Regions from separate parts of the Homo sapiens genome. Here region 1 is linked to region 2. The links are contacts of gene promoters, found by promoter capture Hi-C in human tissues and cell types (Jung and others, 2019). All regions are on one chromosome and are shown on one strand. The core of a region is centred on a gene start or on the middle of the fragment in contact, and the rest is flanking DNA. Distances in the headings are between cores, read along the strand shown. Region 1 overlaps PAXBP1 (PAX3 and PAX7 binding protein 1). Region 2 holds the start of IFNGR2 (interferon gamma receptor 2).

The links. Contacts are between HindIII fragments. The study calls those that stand out against the background at their distance.
Region 1: a contact is called between a fragment that was not itself captured here and the fragment with the promoter of IFNGR2 in region 2, in 1 of the 25 tissues and cell types used here (dorsolateral prefrontal cortex).

Annotation. Positions count from the first base shown.
Region 1 is chr21:32,743,523-32,749,007 of GRCh38, forward strand. PAXBP1 (PAX3 and PAX7 binding protein 1) reads right to left here. Exons shown (of 18, transcript NM_016631.4): 11 at 4,977-5,176; 12 at 2,052-2,196; 13 at 1,270-1,391; 14 at 156-232. Among named protein-coding and RNA genes, the nearest start is that of PAXBP1-AS1, 18 kb to the left of the region's middle. The HindIII fragment of the contact is 5,225 bases long and covers 657-5,485 here.
Region 2 is chr21:33,398,786-33,404,662 of GRCh38, forward strand. It overlaps IFNGR2 (interferon gamma receptor 2), which reads left to right and starts at 4,628. Exons shown (of 7, transcript NM_005534.4): 1 at 4,628-4,831. The coding sequence starts at 4,759. RefSeq lists cis regulatory regions at 3,173-4,360, 3,745-4,360, 4,343, 4,353, 4,630 and 2 more, promoters at 3,576-4,732, 3,576-4,214, 3,586-4,753, 4,348-4,752 and silencers at 4,307-4,846, 4,857-4,936, 4,957-5,006, 5,147-5,196. The HindIII fragment of the contact is 6,342 bases long and covers 1,368-5,877 here.

The DNA.
Region 1 (5,485 bases), core at 2,019-4,518, 660 kb before region 2:
TCTGCTTAAGGGAACAATCTCGCCACTAATCTAGTCTCTCTGTAATACACTACATGGGTGAAGTTTGTATTTCAAGCTAGTTTTTCAGAATTTTATAAGCCTTCTCTGAAACACAATGGAGAATATTATCTTTAATGTTCTTCAGAGTTACTTACTTTTTGGGATATAAGGGCATAAATACATCATCATCTAAAGTTCTTCTCATTCTCAATAAAAGTGCCTTTAGGTATACCTAAAAAGTTAAAAGTAGATCACACATTTTAATAAGGACTATGACAAGAAAAATAAGCCATATTCCAAATCATGTAACTGAATATTGAACTGAGTGAACTAGTTTCTCAAATTTTTAATTTTCCTCATTGAAGACCCTAAAGTAATTAATACTTAATAATCTATTAGTTCATTCCTCAACAACTGCCAAGCAATAAAGCTTTAGAAATCTTTCAATTCCTTAGTCTACATAAAGATTTAAGACCAGACACATAATCTAGCTCTCAAAGTGAAAATTCAACAATGACAAAGAGCACCCACCTTCTCTACATTTAAACAGCTTCTATGAATGGCCCCTGAAGAGCATTAACTTTAAGTTTGGCAACTAGTTATAAAACAGTATCTAGTTGTTTTATATGCTGTTTAAATGGTTTGGGTGCCCAATCTTTTGGCTTCCCTGGGCCATACTGGAAGAACTGTCTTGGGCCACACATAAAATACAATGACACTAATGACAGCTGATGAGCTAAAAAAAAAAAAAAAAGAAAAAAAAAAAGGAGGGGGGCGGGGTCTGTGCATAAATTTCATGTATTAAGACAGTTTACAAATTTGTGTTGGGCCGCATTCAAAGCCGTCCTGGGCCACATGTCCATGGGCCACGGGTTGGACAAGCTTAAATTATCAATTGTTAACATTTTGGTTTCTCATTTCCCCCCAGAAAATACAGTCTTTAAAAGGACATTTGATTAGTTGGATTGGGACTGAGGTGTGGTGGTGAGAAATCATAATGAAAGGCTATTTAAAATGATGACATCTTCCTTCCATATTGATTTTTTTAAACTGAAAACTAACATCTCTCTGCGGGACTAGGTATAAAAAAAAGAAAAAAAAAACCTAACATCTCAAATTTTGTGTATTTCAGGCTTTAATGGCCCTGATGGCCCAAGTGGGAGAACCAGATTTCTGATTGGTTTAGGATAACCACTCATTCTCTCAATGCTTGCTCATATTCAACAGAAAGAGGAAAAAAAAAAAAGGCTTCAAAAGATACTAAATTACCTGTGTATTTTTATTTTCTGCATTCACTACTGAAGGATATCCATTGATTAATTTTAGTGTAATTCCCACCATTCTTGAAGTCTGTGTTGTAGAAAAAGGGTCCCACATATTTTCAGCTATCACTATTAAGAAAAAAAGAGGATTGAGACACAGAAGCCAATTGTACCTTTAATTTTTTGTCAAGCAGACCTCTATTAATGCCAATCCTAATTTATTTTTCCTCTTTTTCTACAATATAAGCTTTAGTCTTCTTTGTCCTATTAACTGTGGGAATTTGGAGGGATAGGGATGTGGAGAGAGGATAGATTATTCTTATTTCTGGTACTCAGGGAAAATAAAGATTAGGAAAAAAGAGGATTTCTGTAGAAATGTTGTCTTGGCATCAAGAATTTCAAACTAACATTTCTAGTATTTAAAATAGATTCCTGTATCAATGATTCCTAATCTTTTTTGAGGAACTTATGAAAGCATTTTAATTGCTCCCCACATAAATGCATATCCTCCTCCCTCAAACTCTGTATAATTTTGCTTCAGTCAGTCTTTGAATTTCTAAACCTCACCTATGAAGCAATTACTGCACTCAACTACAGGCCCACCCTAAAGTGGTCTTCAAGTCCCAGGATAAGAACCCCTCTGCCCTCTAGCCATCTCTGGGCCAGGTGGTAACTATTATTTCTCATGTAATTTCTATAAGGAAACATGCTCTGAATTATAAACTCATAAAAATAGATTTGAGAAAGCCAGTGTGTCTGAATGCTCAATTCAGAGAACAGGAGATTTACCTGTTAGTTTAGGAAGAATCACCTTTTCCACAATGGTAGGTAGTAGGGCAACATCTACATCATCTTTTTCTTGCTCTCGTTCTTCACAACCATAAAACAGCAAAGATTCAAACCACAGCATATTCTCAAAGTCACGACATTTTGCCTAAAAGACATTTAAAAGGTTACCCAAATACTAAAATAGTGGCTATTTCTGCTTCCAGCTATGATAAGAGAAACAAGAACTGGATTTAACCTTTGGTTGCAAACAACTAAAAACTGGACGGCTGGAGATATCATGCTACCAGACTTCAAACTATAAGGCCACAGTAACCAAAACAGCATGGTACTGATACAAAAACAGACACATAGACCAATGGAACAGAATAGAGAACTCAGCAATAAGACCGCACACCTACAACCATCTGATCTCCGACAAACCTGACACGAACAAGCAATGGGGAAAAGATTCCCTGTTTAATAAATGGTGTTGGGAGAATTGGCTAGCCATATACAGAAAATTGAAACTGGGCTCCTTCCTTACACCATATACAAAAGTTAAGTCAAGATGGATTAAAGACTTAAATGTAAACCCCAAAACTATAAAAATCCTAGAAGAAAATCTAGGCAATACCATTCAAGACATCGGCATGGGCAAAGATTTCACGACAAAAACACCAAAAGCAACTGCAACAAAAGCAAAAATTGACAAATGGTATCTAATTCAACTAAAGAGCTTCTACGCAGCAAAAGAAACTATTATCAGAGTGAACAGACAACCTACAGAATGGGAGAAAATTCTTGCAATCTATCCATCTGACAAAGGTCTAATATCCAGAGTCTACAGGAAACTTTATAGGAAAAAAACAACCCCATTAAAAGTGGGCAAAGGACATGAACAGATACTTCTCAAAAGAAGACATTCATGTAGCCAACAAACATGAAAAAAAGCTCAACATCACCGATGATTGGAGAAATGCAAATCTAAACCACAATGAGATACCATCCCATGCCAATCAGAATGGGAATTATTTAAAAGTCCAGAAACAAAAGATGCTGGTAAGGTTTCAGAGAAAAAGGAACACTTTTACACTATTGGTGGGAGTGTAAGGAAGACAGTGTGCCAATTCCTCACAGATCTAGAAGCAGAAATGCCATTTGACCCAGCAATCCCATTACTGGGTATATACCTACAGAAATATAAATCATTCTATTATAAAGCTACATGCATATGTATGTTCACTGCAGCACTATTCACAATAGCAAAGACATGGAATCAACCCAAATGCCCATCAATTATAGACTGGATAAAGAAAATGTTATACATATACACCATGGAATACTATGCAGCCATAAAAAGGAACGAGGTCATGTCCTTTGCAGGGACATGGATGGAGCTAGAAGCCATTATCCTCAGCAAACTAACGCAGGAACAGAAACCCAAGCACCACATGTTCTCGCAAGTGGGAGCTGAACAATGAGAATATATGGACACATACTGGGGAAAAACACACACTGAGGCCTGTTGGGGGGTGGGGGTGGGGACTTGGGGGAGGGAGAGCAACAACAGCTACTGGATGCTAGGCTTCCTACCAAGGTGATGGGTTGATCTGTGCTGTAAACCACCATGTCACATGTTTACCTATGTAACAAATCTGCACATGTACCCTGGAACTTAAAAGCCAAAGAAAATAAAAAAGAACTGGACAAAATACAATGGACCATAGGCAGCACAAGACTATGACCCTTTAAAGAAAGGAATCAAATGAGGTGAGATGCTAGTTCAGGACAGCAGAGCAGTTTTGCTGAGTGGAGGAGACAGAGGGTGGAGCTCAGGAAGGCTGACACAGCTGGAAACTGTGGGGCAGAGGAGTGGGGGACACAGAAAAATAACTCCAAAATACAGTCTTGGGCCTTTGCTATCTACCAAGACACTCATGCACACAGCAAAACTTCAGAAGGTCTGGCCAAGAGCACACAGGAAATAGGAGCTGTGAGCTGAATGCTTCTCAGAGCTCACATTTTTTTCAGTTGTGTTTCCATGGCATCAACCTCAGCTCCCTTTTCCTTATAGTTCACAAATTCAACCTAGCCAATCTCAACCATGTCTACAGCTTCACCCACGTTGGTAACTTCTAAAACCACATTGTAAACATCACCACTAGACCTCCAGAGTCAATTCTAGCCCCCTCCCTTATATGACAGGCCAATAGGTCCTCTTGATTCCACCTCCTTATCTTTTTTTTTTTTTCTTGTGGCAGGTCTTGTTCTATCACCCAGGCTGCAGTGCAGTGGCACAATCATAGCTCATTACAGCCTTGATCTCCCGGGCTCAAGCAATCCTGCCTCAGCCCCCGAAGTAGCTAGGAATATGAGCACATGCCACCACAGCTAATTTTTTTTTTTTTTTTTTAAGTAGAGACAAGGTCTTGCTATGTTGCCCAGGCTGGTCTTGAACTCCTGAGCTCAAACAATCCTCCCGCCTTGGCCTCCCAAACTGTTGGGATTACAAGCATGAGCCACCATGCCTGGCCTATCAATTTTTCTCACCATGACAACTGACTTGGGTCATGTCCTCATTTCACACCTGCCTCATTGTGCTTTCCCATCTGGTTCTGAGTTCCTCTAGGATCAAAGGACCAAGTTCTTACTATTCATGTTCATATCCCAGTGTTACTGCATATAATTTCAGCTGGCTGAAAAAAGGATTATATGTAAACTGAAAAAACAACAACAACAACAAAAAAAACACATAGCTCTGCTGGGAAGACATGAAACTTAAAAGGAAAGATCATAAGATTATAACCAGATACAATCTATCAATTATAGCCTATGCCCTATCACCCCTGCAAAATATTTTGCTTAAGCTTACATCTCTAGCTTTGAGATTAAAATTACCCAGATATCAAATTATAACACTTTCTAATAGTGACAGAAGCCACTCACCTCAAGAGGAGTCCAAGTGAGGAGCTGAAGTCGTATGAGGGGGTTGAATAATTTTGGCAAACAAAGGCCAATGTAAGCATCTTTGTAGGATGTGTAGTATTTTGAACGCCATGCTTCAAACTGTGATTTAATACAGTCAATTGAATAGAAACTTTCAAGGACATCTTCAAAAACTTTGCCGGATTCTTTTGAAATTCGATCTAAAAACAACAAAACCCCACAGAGAACCATACATTAGTATGAAGTAGGAAAAAAACAGTCCAATATTTTCAGTGTTTTCTTTGTAGCTTCAGTATCAGAAGATACGCTCATTAACAAAGGGCCAATTGTTAGTCACAATTTAGAAGAAAAAAATAAATTGAAGTTTCAATTTGTCTATTATGTAAACTAAAGTGCAGCCAGTCCTTGTTTTGCAGTTCCAGTATATACAATTTTTCTACCACAGTTTGGCTAAATAAAACCTGTTCCCAAACAAGATGGTTCAAATTTCAGTTACTACGGTGTATTAG
Region 2 (5,877 bases), core at 3,378-5,877:
CTGTCCGGTGCTGGAGCCTGAAGTCCTCAGGGCAGGAGGCCGGGAAGAGAAGGTGGACAAGAGATGGAGGAAGCAGGGACAAGCTGAAATCTAAGGCTCAGCTGCCACCCTCCTCACCCTGCTCTCCATCTCCACACCTCCAGCTTACACGACCACATGAGATCCACGGGGAGCTGGAGGAGCCTGGAGCCTGTCTGCATCCCTGCCATCTAGGACATCAGCAGAGAAGCCACAGGTCGGGAGCTGCAAAGATGGATGCCTTGTGCCCTGCCCCAGCCTCCCAAGGGTAAAGGAATATGGCTGCACCTTTCCTTCCATCTTCCAAGTCTCGCACATTGCTAGGGTTTGAATGTGTCCCCAAATTTCACGTGCTGGAAATTTGATTCCCAATATGGCAGTATGGAGGAATGAGGCCTTTCAGAGGTGATTGGTTATGGTGATCCTGCCCTCATGGATGGGTGGATTCATTCATGGACTAATGGGTTCATGGACCAATGGTTATCATGGGAGTGGGGCTGGTGGCTTTATAAAAGAGGGGATGGGCATGGTGGCTCACTCCTGTAATCCCAACACTTTGGGAGGCCGAGGCAGGTGGATCACTTGAGGTCAGTAGTTCAAGACCAGGGCAACAGGTGAAACACCAACTCTACTAAAAATACAAAAATTAGCCGGGTGTGGTGGCAGGTGCCTGTAATCCCAGCTACTTGGGAGGCTGAGGCAGGAAAATTGCTTGAACCCAGGAGGCAGAGGTTGCAGTGAGCCAAGATTGCACCATTGCACTCCAGCCTAGGCAACAGAGTGATACTCCATCTCAAAAGAAAAAAAAAAAAAAGAGGAAGATAAATCCGAGCACCTTAGCACCCTCAGCCCCCCTTGCCATGTGATGCCCTGACCACCTCATGACTCTGCAGAGAATCTCCACCAGCAAGAAGGCCCTCACCAGATTTAGTCCCTAGACCTTGGACTTCTCAGCCTCCCAAAATGTAAGAAATAAATGCCTTTTCTTTATCAATTACCCAGCTTCAGATATTCTGTTATAAGCAACAGAAAATGGACCAAGACACACACAAACATCCTTCCCTGCCCATGTTACCTCAGAACTTTTCAGGGAGGGGAATTCTAGGAAATGCAGTTACAGTTTAGCAGACCTACTGCAGTGCAAACCCACCACAGGCCAAGTCACTGAACTCTGCTAGTGTCCCCATGGGACAGCCATCGCCTGCCTAACTGGGAGGTCTGAGTGTTATAATACCTAGAGAAGCACCACTGGCCAGCAAAAAATGTTGGCTTCTTTCTGCCATCCCCCACCCACTCTCCTGAGGGAGGTGAGAGGAGTCCCTCTAGGCTATTAGAAATGCTTCAGGAAGATCAACTGATTACAAGGTAAGGAATTAATGGAAAGGGATGGTGCAGATTCAGGGTTTGTAGGGCTGAAGTGTATATAATAGATGGAGCCCTCTTTATAAACAAATACACAACTCACTATAAAATTAGGCACAAAAGTATTTCTTTTTCTTTTCTTTTTTTTTTTTTTTTGAGATGGAGCCTTACTCTGCACTCAGGCTGGAGTGCAGTGGTGCTGTCTCAGCTCACTGCAACCTCCATCTCCCAGGTTCAAGCAATTGTCATGCCTCAGCCTCCCAAGTAGCTGGGATTACAGGCACCTGCCACTATGCCTGGCTAATTTTTCTATTTTTAGTAGAGATGGGGTTTCACCATGTTGGCCAGGCTGGTCTTGAACTCCTGACCTCAGGTGATCCACCCACCTCGGCCTCCCAAAGTGCTGGAATTACAGGTGTGAGCCACCACATCTGGCCAAAAGTATTTCTTTAGAATGATATACAGGTTACAATTTTTTTTTTTTTTTTGAGACAGAGTCTTGCTCTGTGGCTCAGGCTAGAGTGCAGCAGCATGATCTCAGCTCACGGCAACCTCCACCTCCTGGGTTCATGTGATTCTCCTGTCTCAGCCTCCCAAGTAGCAGGGATTACAGGCACATGCCACCACGCCTGGCTAATTTTTGTATTTTTAGTAGAGACGAGTTTCACCATGTTGGCCAGGCTGGTCTTGAACTCCTGATCTCAGGTGATCCACCTGGCTCAGCCTCCCAAAGCGCTGGGATTAGAGGCGTGAGCCACCGCACCCAGCCATCAAAGATGTAACCTTGAAACAAACTGCAGAAGCCTTTTCCCTTAGCCTTAAAATGGACTCCATGTCCCTCCCTTCTTCACCGTATAAACTCCCTTCACATTTATCTAACTGTATGCCCGTGTCTAGTTACGTGCCTTCTTAGAGGTTCCAGACGCTAATCTTGAGACAGACAGACCAAGCCTGGAGATTCTTCTGCAAAATTCCACATGTGACCTCAAGGCGTCTAATTAAGAATCCAGCCATTGTTGAGATGATGCCAGACCACAGGCTTCCTGTGGACTAGGACCCAAGACAGCCACCGGAACAAGACAAACAGACAGTGTACTTAGCATAATCCTTGCCTGACTTCCACATCGTTTTCCCGTTTTAAACCCTTGCCTTGGCCGGGCGCGGTGGCTCACGCCTGTAATCCCAGCACTTTGGGAGGCCGAGGCAGGCAGATCACGAGGTCAGGAGATCGAGACCAACCTGGCTAACACGGTGAAAACCCATCTCTACAAAAAACACAAAAAATTAGCCGGGTGTGGTGGCGTGCGCCTGCAGTCCCAGCTACTCGGGAGGCTGAGGCAGGAGAATGGTGTGAACCCAGAAGGCGGAGCTTGCAGTGAGCGGAGATCACACCACTGCACTCCAGCCTGGGTGACGGAGACTCTGTCTCAAATAAATAAATAAATAAATAAATAAATAAATAAATAAATAAATAAAATAAATAACCCTTGCCTTTCCCACTCCCCATACCCCACAATTCAACGTGATTGCTTTGGGGATAGGAATCCAACCACTTCCCCTTGCTAGCTTTGGAAATAAAGTCACTTTCTTTCCACCACATCTTGCTCTTGTTAGACTCTGCAAGCAGCCAGCGACTGAACCAGCATTCGGTTACATCCCCTGAGGCGGATGACACTTGTGTGATCCTGTAACCGATTTCTTGTTAGAATGTTGGCATCTTTCACCCAGTCGTTTTCTTGTAATTTTATTTATTTGTTTGAAAACAGAATCCTTCTTGCAATCCTGTCATTTTCAGTGCCTTTTTTTTTTTTTTTTTTTTTTTTTTTTTTTTTTTTTTTTGAGACGGAGTCTCGGTCTGTCACCCAGGCCGGGGTGCAGTGGCGCAATCTCCGCTCACTACAACCTCCGCCTCCCGGGTTCAAGTGATTCTCCTGTCTTAGCCCTCCAAGTAGCTGGGATTACAGGCGCCGGCCACCACGCCTGACTAATTTTTGTATTTTTAGTAGAGACGGGTTTCAGCCATATTGGCCAGGCTGGTCTCCAACTCCTGGCCTCATGTGATCCGCCCACCTCGGCCTCCTAAAGTGCTGAGATTACAGGCGTGAGCCACCGCGCCTGGCATCAGTGCATACTTTTTGAAGTGATTCCAAGTTATCGCCCGCTTTTTTCGTGTAACATATAAATACATCTCTGTATCTAGAAATATCCAATGCATAATTCAATTGTCTGCGAGGTATTTCATCACGTATTTTCACGAGCGTGGCCAATTTCAAAATAGTTCTACAAAGAGGAAATGCAAGAATGTGGGAAGAGCAAAAGAAAAGCTCTATGTTGCAAAACCCATTTTTGCTAACGTGTCCAGTGGGCTCCCGGGACGACCTGTTTTTAAATTCTTGGTCTCCCTGCACCGCGTCCCTCCTTTGCTGCGCTAGCTTTATGACGCATCTTGGAAGAACAGGGCAGATTTAAAACCCTCTCCCAACAGGCGTCAAACGACATGGTGCAGGCTCGGGCTGGGGAGCGGGCCTGCGGCTGCCCAGCTGCTAAAGGACTTCCTACTCGTGCACCGCCGCCGGCTCCAGGGCAAACCCCACGCCATTTAGAAATGCTGGAAGTTTCTGTCTCTCCCTCCCCCTGCTCGGAGGCCATTCCCCCCACCCCCAGAGCCCCACCTCCTCCTTCACTGGGCCCTTTCTAACTCCTTCCCCTTAAAACCCTTTTCAAAATGGGGTTGACTGGAGGCGGAGGTTGCAGTGAGCCGAGATCGCCCCACTGCACTCCAGCCTGGTGACTCCGTCTCAAAAAAAAGGGGAGGGGGGCGGGGGAGAGTTGAAAGCTTAATATGTACTTTGGGGGCTATTAAAGCAAACATTTCGACTAAAGGGGCGAATCCTCGAATTGTGCGATCAAGCACCCGAGAGGAGAGTTGGGGGGGGTCAGGAGGGGTGGGGGCTCCAGGGAAAGCCCGGGGGTCTGGGCCGGGGTCTCGCGGGGCCCTTCCGGAAGGATCGCGGCCCCCGAAGGTGGGCGTCCCGCGGGGCTCCAGTCTCCAGGACGTTCCGGGAGGCTCCGCGCTCTGGGAGGCCGGCTGCGTGGGGTCCCCGCGCTGCAGCCGCAGAGGCCCCCCAGGGCCGCGGTTCCCGGAGCGGGAAAGTCCCGCGCGGGGGCGGTGGCCTCGGGGGCGGGACGGGGCGGGGGCGGGGGCGCGGGCGGCCGAGCCGAATCCCCTCCACCGGGACGCCCCGCTGCTGCTCGGGAAGAGGCGGGCCCTGCGCGCCCTGCGCTCGCCATGGCGGTTTGGGCGGCGACGTGAGCGGCTCCGCGGACCCCGAGCGGGGCCCCGGCCGCGACCTGAGCCGCCGCCGAGCGCCCGGGGCCATGCGACCGACGCTGCTGTGGTCGCTGCTGCTGCTGCTCGGAGTCTTCGCCGCCGCCGCCGCGGCCCCGCCAGGTGAGCCGGGCCTGGGCCTCCGCGGCGGGACGCGGGCGCAGCCGCAGCATGTGGGGGCTGGGGGACTCCCGGATCGTGGGGTGGGGGGAATCTGCCGGGTGCTCAGAGTGGGTGGGAATCTGCGGGGTGCTCCTGGTGGGTGGGATATGCGGAGTGCTCAGATCAGGTGGGAACCTGCGGGTGCCCCAGGTGGGGGTCTTGCGGGGTGCCCAGGGCTAGAGGGGCCCGCTGGGAGCCCGCAGCGGGGCTGGGATGGGCGGCCAGGAGTTCCAGACAGGAGCTGGGCAGCAGCAGGAAGACGGGGGGCACCCCTCCTGGCGTCCTGGCCGCCGGGACACCCCTCTCCGGGAGAGGACACTCGGTGCCCCTCCGTGAAGCCGGTAACCTCGGCTGCGCCACCTCCCCCACCCGCGCGCCCGCGCCGGGAAAGCCAGCGTGGCCCCAGTCTCCGAATTTCTCGGAATGAACAACAGCAAATTGAATCCAGGGCTCCGGCGGGGGCCGCCTTTGCTGGCCACTGGTTCTGCAGCCTGGCGAGACTGCGCTTAGTCCCCGCCTGGAGTGCCTCCCGAAGGCCTGGCTGGAAGCTAGACTCAGTCCCTTTGTAGTAGCAGCGGTGGAGCAGGGACCAGCGTCTTGGACGGGTGACCCAGACTCAATTCCGACTTTGGCCGAGGGCATGTTTGACACTGGGTGTGAAATCTAGACAGTTCCCGCGGTCATAGAGATGGGGCAGCAGCATTCAGGCAGGGCTCAGAACTGTCCGGGTCCCATCAGTGTTGGGGCGGAAGAGGAAGAGTGTCAACTGAGCCAGGCATTTATTTATTTTATTGTTGTTTGAGACAGGGTGTCGCTCTGTCGCCCAGGCTGGAGTGCAGTGGGCAGCATCTCAGCTACTGCAGCCTCCGCCTCCCGTGCTCAAGCGATCCTCCCACGTCAGCCTCCCAAGAAGGTGGTATTATTGGCCACGCCTGGCCAATTTTTGTATTTTTTGTAGAGAGGAGGTCTCACTGTGTTGCCCAGGCTGTTCTTGTACTCCTGAGCTC